Linked DNA regions of Homo sapiens: region 1 is linked to region 2. The links are contacts of gene promoters, found by promoter capture Hi-C in human tissues and cell types (Jung and others, 2019). All regions are on one chromosome and are shown on one strand. Each heading gives the region's core, a stretch centred on a gene start or on the middle of the fragment in contact. The rest is flanking DNA. Distances are from core to core; before and after follow the strand shown. Region 1 overlaps CR1L (complement C3b/C4b receptor 1 like). Region 2 holds the start of CR1 (complement C3b/C4b receptor 1 (Knops blood group)).

The links. The method cuts DNA at HindIII sites, captures the fragments that hold promoters and counts their contacts. A contact is called where the count stands out against the background at its distance.
Region 1: a fragment that was not itself captured here is called in contact with the fragment with the promoter of CR1 in region 2 in 1 of the 25 tissues and cell types used here (aorta).

What each region holds. Positions count from the first base shown.
Region 1 is chr1:207,682,261-207,684,960 of GRCh38, reverse strand. It overlaps CR1L (complement C3b/C4b receptor 1 like), which reads right to left. Exons shown (of 12, transcript NM_175710.2): 4 at 1,004-1,089. Among named protein-coding and RNA genes, the nearest start is that of CR1L, 38 kb to the right of the region's middle. The HindIII fragment of the contact is 6,489 bases long and covers 1-2,700 here.
Region 2 is chr1:207,494,803-207,497,502 of GRCh38, reverse strand. CR1 (complement C3b/C4b receptor 1 (Knops blood group)) reads right to left here and starts at 1,346. Exons shown (of 47, transcript NM_000651.6): 1 at 1,115-1,346. The coding sequence starts at 1,235. The HindIII fragment of the contact is 14,814 bases long and covers 1-2,700 here.

The sequences.
Region 1 (2,700 bases), core at 147-2,646, 190 kb before region 2:
ATGTCATTTGTAAATTTAGATTCTGAAGCTCGTAAACTTTCTAGTAAAAGTAACAACATTTTTAAATACCAAGAAGAAAAGTAAAGAAGTCCCCAAGTTATCCAAAGAGAAGAGTAAGACAAAGATGTTATACACTGCATTTCTCTCAGCCTCAGCCTGGCCCTCACTACATAGGTGTATTTTTTTTTAATAAAATGAGATCTTGCCATATATGCCGTTCATCTGATTCTTTTTCCACATAAAACACATCTCTTTCTAGTCATTAAGTGCTTCTTTATGCTATCATTTTTTATGGCTGAATACCATGCCAGTGTATGGATATACTTATTTTCATTCTGCATAGCTATTTCATGTTTCTTAGGGAATTCTTTGTAATGGTCATTTGAACACATCTTTTTCCTACTAGTAGATTATTTCCAAACCATAGTTTAAAATATTTAGGTTACTCTAACATTTTAACTAATATAAATAATGCTGCAATGAAAAGTTTATACCAAACTGCTTTAAAAAGTGTGTGATTATTTCCTAAGTATAAATTCTAAGAAGTAGGTTAAAATACATGCCCACTTCTGAGGTTTATAGTGCATGGGGCCTTTCAAGAGGATGTGTTGATCTCGTGGTACATGAGAGTCCAGGTTCTTCCACAGCTTCGCTAACCTTGAAGAGTATCAATTTTTAAAATCTTTACTGATTTGCCAAGCAGGATGATTATTATACTGGAGGTGGTAGAACCAACATAATTTCAAGTTTATTGAAGTAAAATCAAGTTTGAAGCCTTTTACGTATTTAGGCCCCTAGAATTAGAAAAGACACATCCCAGGATAAGAAAGAACTTAAAGAAAGAGTTGCCAGGAACCCCATAGGAATATCTGAGAACATTATGGCTGTCTTCAGCCATGTGAAGTACAGATTGCACAGAAGGAATTCGGTTAAGATTTTTATTATTCCAGAGAAAAATTAGAATGTATCGGTAAAAGAAATAGGAATGCATATTTCAACTCACTGTCACAAACAGGTGTTTTATTATCCCAAATGACAGTGTTGCCTGAGATGATGCATGTGGCAGACGAGGAACCAATGAGTCGGTATCTAGAGGCAAAAAATAAGGAATGTTACATTCTAAATACACAGGTCAACTACCCAATTAAATTACTACTTCCAGAGATTACACTCTTATAGAATTCAGAGGGACATTTTCCACTTGTCAAAGAATTGTCTATCACCTTCCCAAATTTCACATTCTTGGGACTTTGTCATTTTCTCTTCCATGCCTTCTCAGTTGGATGGGATTTCTCTTTTTTATTATCTTATGACACATTTTTATATAAATCAAAGATGAGTTACAGTTTTTCCTATAAATTTCATTTTTTTAAAAGACAACACAAGCTTCTTGAGTGCAGGGAAGCTGTCATATATATACATATGTATGTGTGTATGTAGTCCTGTTGTATGTATTTCTATGCCTTATAAGTATTAATATATGGATGCATGGATGGGCTTTTATCAGTAAGATTCATCTAAGTAGGCCATTCACAGTGGCTCACGCCTGTAATCCCAGCACGTTTGGAGGCTGAGGTAGGAGGACTGCTTGAGCTCAGGAGTTCGAGAGAAGCCTGGGCAACATAGTGAGACCCTGTCTCAACAAAAATTTTATTAAAAAGCCACGCATGGTGGCACATTCCTGTAGTCCTAGCTACTCAGAAGGCTGAGGCAGGAAGATCGCTTGAGCCTGGGAGATTGAGGCTGCAGTGAGTGTTGATCATGCCACTGCACTCCAGTCTGGGCAATAAAGCAAGACCTTGTCAGTAGGAAAGAAAGGGGCGGGGTAGAGAGAGAGAGAGAGTCAGAGGGAGAGAGAGAGAGAAAGAGAAAGAGAGAAAGAAAGAAAGAGAAAGAAAGAAAGAAGGAAGGAAGGAGGGAAGGAAGGAAGGAAGGAAAGAAAGAAAGAAAAAGAAAGAAAGAAAGAAAAAAAGAAAGAAAGAAAGAAAGAAAGAAAGAAAATGATTTATAACTAGAACCAAAGGCAATCCAAGCTGACCAAAAAGAACTGAACACTTATTTTATACTTAAAATGTTAAAGTTAGCAATTCTCAATTAGTATGTCTCAAACTGTTCAAAGTGTGCCATAAATTTGGAAGAATTTATAACATTTATTTTACTTCACCTGAGACCCTCTGTTGTGATAGATGGTTGGGCCAAACTAGTCATAGTGAGGGTAGGCTCAAACTTGATAGTACTATACATGAATGAAGCAATGTCAAGTAACAGTCATGGTTATTGGAATGGCTGAGAACTTTGTTTTACAAATATGTAGGAAAACCTGGCAGCATAAAGCTTTATTCAAACAACGAAACAGTGCCAAATGGAGATCAAATGAATAGTGAGACAACAGTGGGTCCTTCTGCAGACACTTGACACATTGTTACATTATAGTAGCTATTATGTTGTAATTATTAGTGACTTCGATATCATTTTGGTTATTTATTATTATTATTATTTTTGAGATAGAGTTTCACTCTTGTCGCCCAGGCTGGAGTGCAATGTCACTGCAACCTCCACCTCCCAGATTCAAGTGATTCTCCTGCCTCAGCCTCTCAAGTAGCTGGGATTACAGGTGCACGCCACTATGCCTGGCTAATTTTTGTATTTTTAGTAAAGACGGGGTTTCATCATGTTGACTAGGGTGGTCTTGAATTCCTG
Region 2 (2,700 bases), core at 97-2,596:
AGAAGAAGGAACACTCAAATAATGAATGTAAAATGTCTAGTGGCAGAGAAGGGCGAACCCGGAGTTGTCAGGAATAGGCTGGACAAAAACAACCAAGACTGTCACTTCAAATGAGATGTTGCCAGTGAGTCTAGGCAACCAAGAAGACTTCTGGGGAGCCGAAAAATAATAATAGAAGGGTTCTAACTGAAGATGTTTACCTATTTGAAGTTAAGAAAAAGGAAGAGATGTGGCCTCAAAATTTCCATAATAATTATAATAGGCGTTATTTTGTACTAAACACATCACTAAAATGCGAACTGTAAACATATCTACTGTCCCTTCTACCTGCAACGGTTACATTGCATGTTCTGGGGCTTCCCTTGCTCTTCTAATCCGCAAGTGCCTGGCATGCATCTGTCTTAAAGTATGCTGTCAATTAAGTGCATGGTGATGATGGCCGTGGTGGCTTGGTGTGGGGGGCGAGGACAGTTCCATGCGGGGCAGTTGTCAGGTAACACCTGCATCCCTAGGACTGCTTGTCTAAACACCATTGGGAGCAAAGTACAGAGGTAACGGTTGGGGGATAGAAATGGACTCGGGGACACATAGCCCTGTGTTAGATACTCGACAGGCTTAATGCCACTGAGGCAGCAACTCCACGATGCAGAGATACCAGTGTCCCCATTTTACAGAAGAGCAAACAGACTCAGGTGTGCTAAGTTGCCTCACAGTTAAGTTTCTAGGACCAGAACTCAGGTTTGTCGGATCCCCAAGTTCCCTTTCACTAGGATCAACGCCACGTCTTGGCTATAGCCAGCCGAGGCTGTGAATACACAAAGGCAAGGAATTTCGTGCGGCACCCGCTCAGCATCTGCGCCTTCCACTGCGCTCGTCACGACTTAAGCCCCTGCACCTGGGAACTCCACGCTTACCCAGAAGCAGCGAGGGTCTCCAGTGCGCAGAAGGATCCTACACCCGCCGCCCTGCCGGGTCGCGCGCTCAGCCCACCCATCGCGCTGCCTTCGGACCCGGGCGCGCAGAGCAGCGCAGCTCAGCGCTGCACGCGAGTTCTCTGCGGGGCCCCGGGTTCCTCGTCCGCCCGGGCGCCTCCCCACGCCCGCCCGCCTCTCACCCCAGGCCACCGGCAGCGCAAGCAGCACCACAACCGCCAGCAGGGATCCTCCGCAGCAGAAGGGGAGACCGGGCGCCGGCGGCCCGACAGGCTCCGGGCTTCTTGGAGAAGAGGCCCCCATTCTCCCCAAGCACATCTACAAACCAGATTTGATCTCGAAGAAAACTGAAATAAGAGGAAAAGCTCAGCGAAAATAGGAGTGACCAATCATTGTGCTCCGCGCCCAGAGTGTGGGGAGGGCTGCGGGGTTCCGGGACAAAATGCTTTTGACCACAGCTTCCCCTTCATGGGCGAGGTCATGTTTACTCCCCATTTGCATTGTTTCTAACGAGTTTCGCTGGCAGAGCCCACCTTGCTGACCCAGGTGCAGCAGCAGAGCTTGACAATGCTCGGGCTTCCGATGGATCCCGCGTGTGAGGCCCTGCGCTTCCAGACAAAGGCGGTGGATGATGGCAGCTCGCCTCCAAACACCCTGCTTAACTTTTCCTCTTTGCAAGAATGTGTGTGGGAAGGTCAGCTAATGAAATGCCTGCTCTCCGTGTTGAAGGGCAATTGCAGGCGATGTGTACGGTGTACAGGGAATGTGAAGAAACAATTTCCTTACCCTGAATTGAGACGTCATGCCATTGTAAGATTTTTTAAAAGGGAGGGACAATTAGATACACATTTAAAAAATGTAAATCTGTGTATAGTATGGAAGGTAGATTAGAATAGGGCAATAATGGACTGCGAAGACCAGTCAGGGGAGCTTTTGCCGACATCCAAGTGAGGTTTGATGGCGGCCCTGACTGGGTGGATAAAGTGGACAATTAACAAAGATATTGGAGATGGAATGAACAGTTGCTCATGTATTGGATTTTGGTTACTTCCTTTCTTAAGGTTGGTGGTGAGAAGAAAGCAATCAAGAGTTAGCCCCCTTGCGGTAGTTTGCTGAGAATGATGGTTTCCAGCTTCCACAATGAGAACACATGGACACAGGAAGAGGAACATCACACACCGGGGCCTGTTGTGGGGTGGGGGGAGGGGGGAGGGATAGCATTAGGAGATATACCTAATGTAAAGGACGAGTTAATGGGTGCAGCACACCAACGTCGCACATGTATGCATATGTAACAAACCTGCACGTTGTGCACATGTACCCTAAAACTTAAAGTATAATAAAAAAAAGAAACAAAAAAAAGAAAAAAGAAAGAAATAATTAAATAATTAAGTTTAAAAAAGGTAGAAAAAATAATATTTTATCTTTTTTATTGGGGGTGGCCTGTCCTTCTGACATGTACTGCCTGCCTGTAGGTAGGCTATTTTGCCTGGGTTTTTCTCTTAAAATAATTTTGACTTTAAACCTTGATTTTGTTGTTGTTGTTGTTGTTGTTGCTAATTTTATGTTAAACTTGTTTTCCTTAACCATTAAAAGGAGACATGATTCAGAAAAGAAAAAAAAAAAAGAGTTAGCCCCAGGATTAGAAATGAATGGTGGTGCTACTTACTGAAATAAGAAGTATGGATGTAGGACTGACAGATTTAGGGCAGAGGGTTAAGTATTCAAGGATGAATGTATTCCTCCTATCTATCTGTGATCCTGTGCC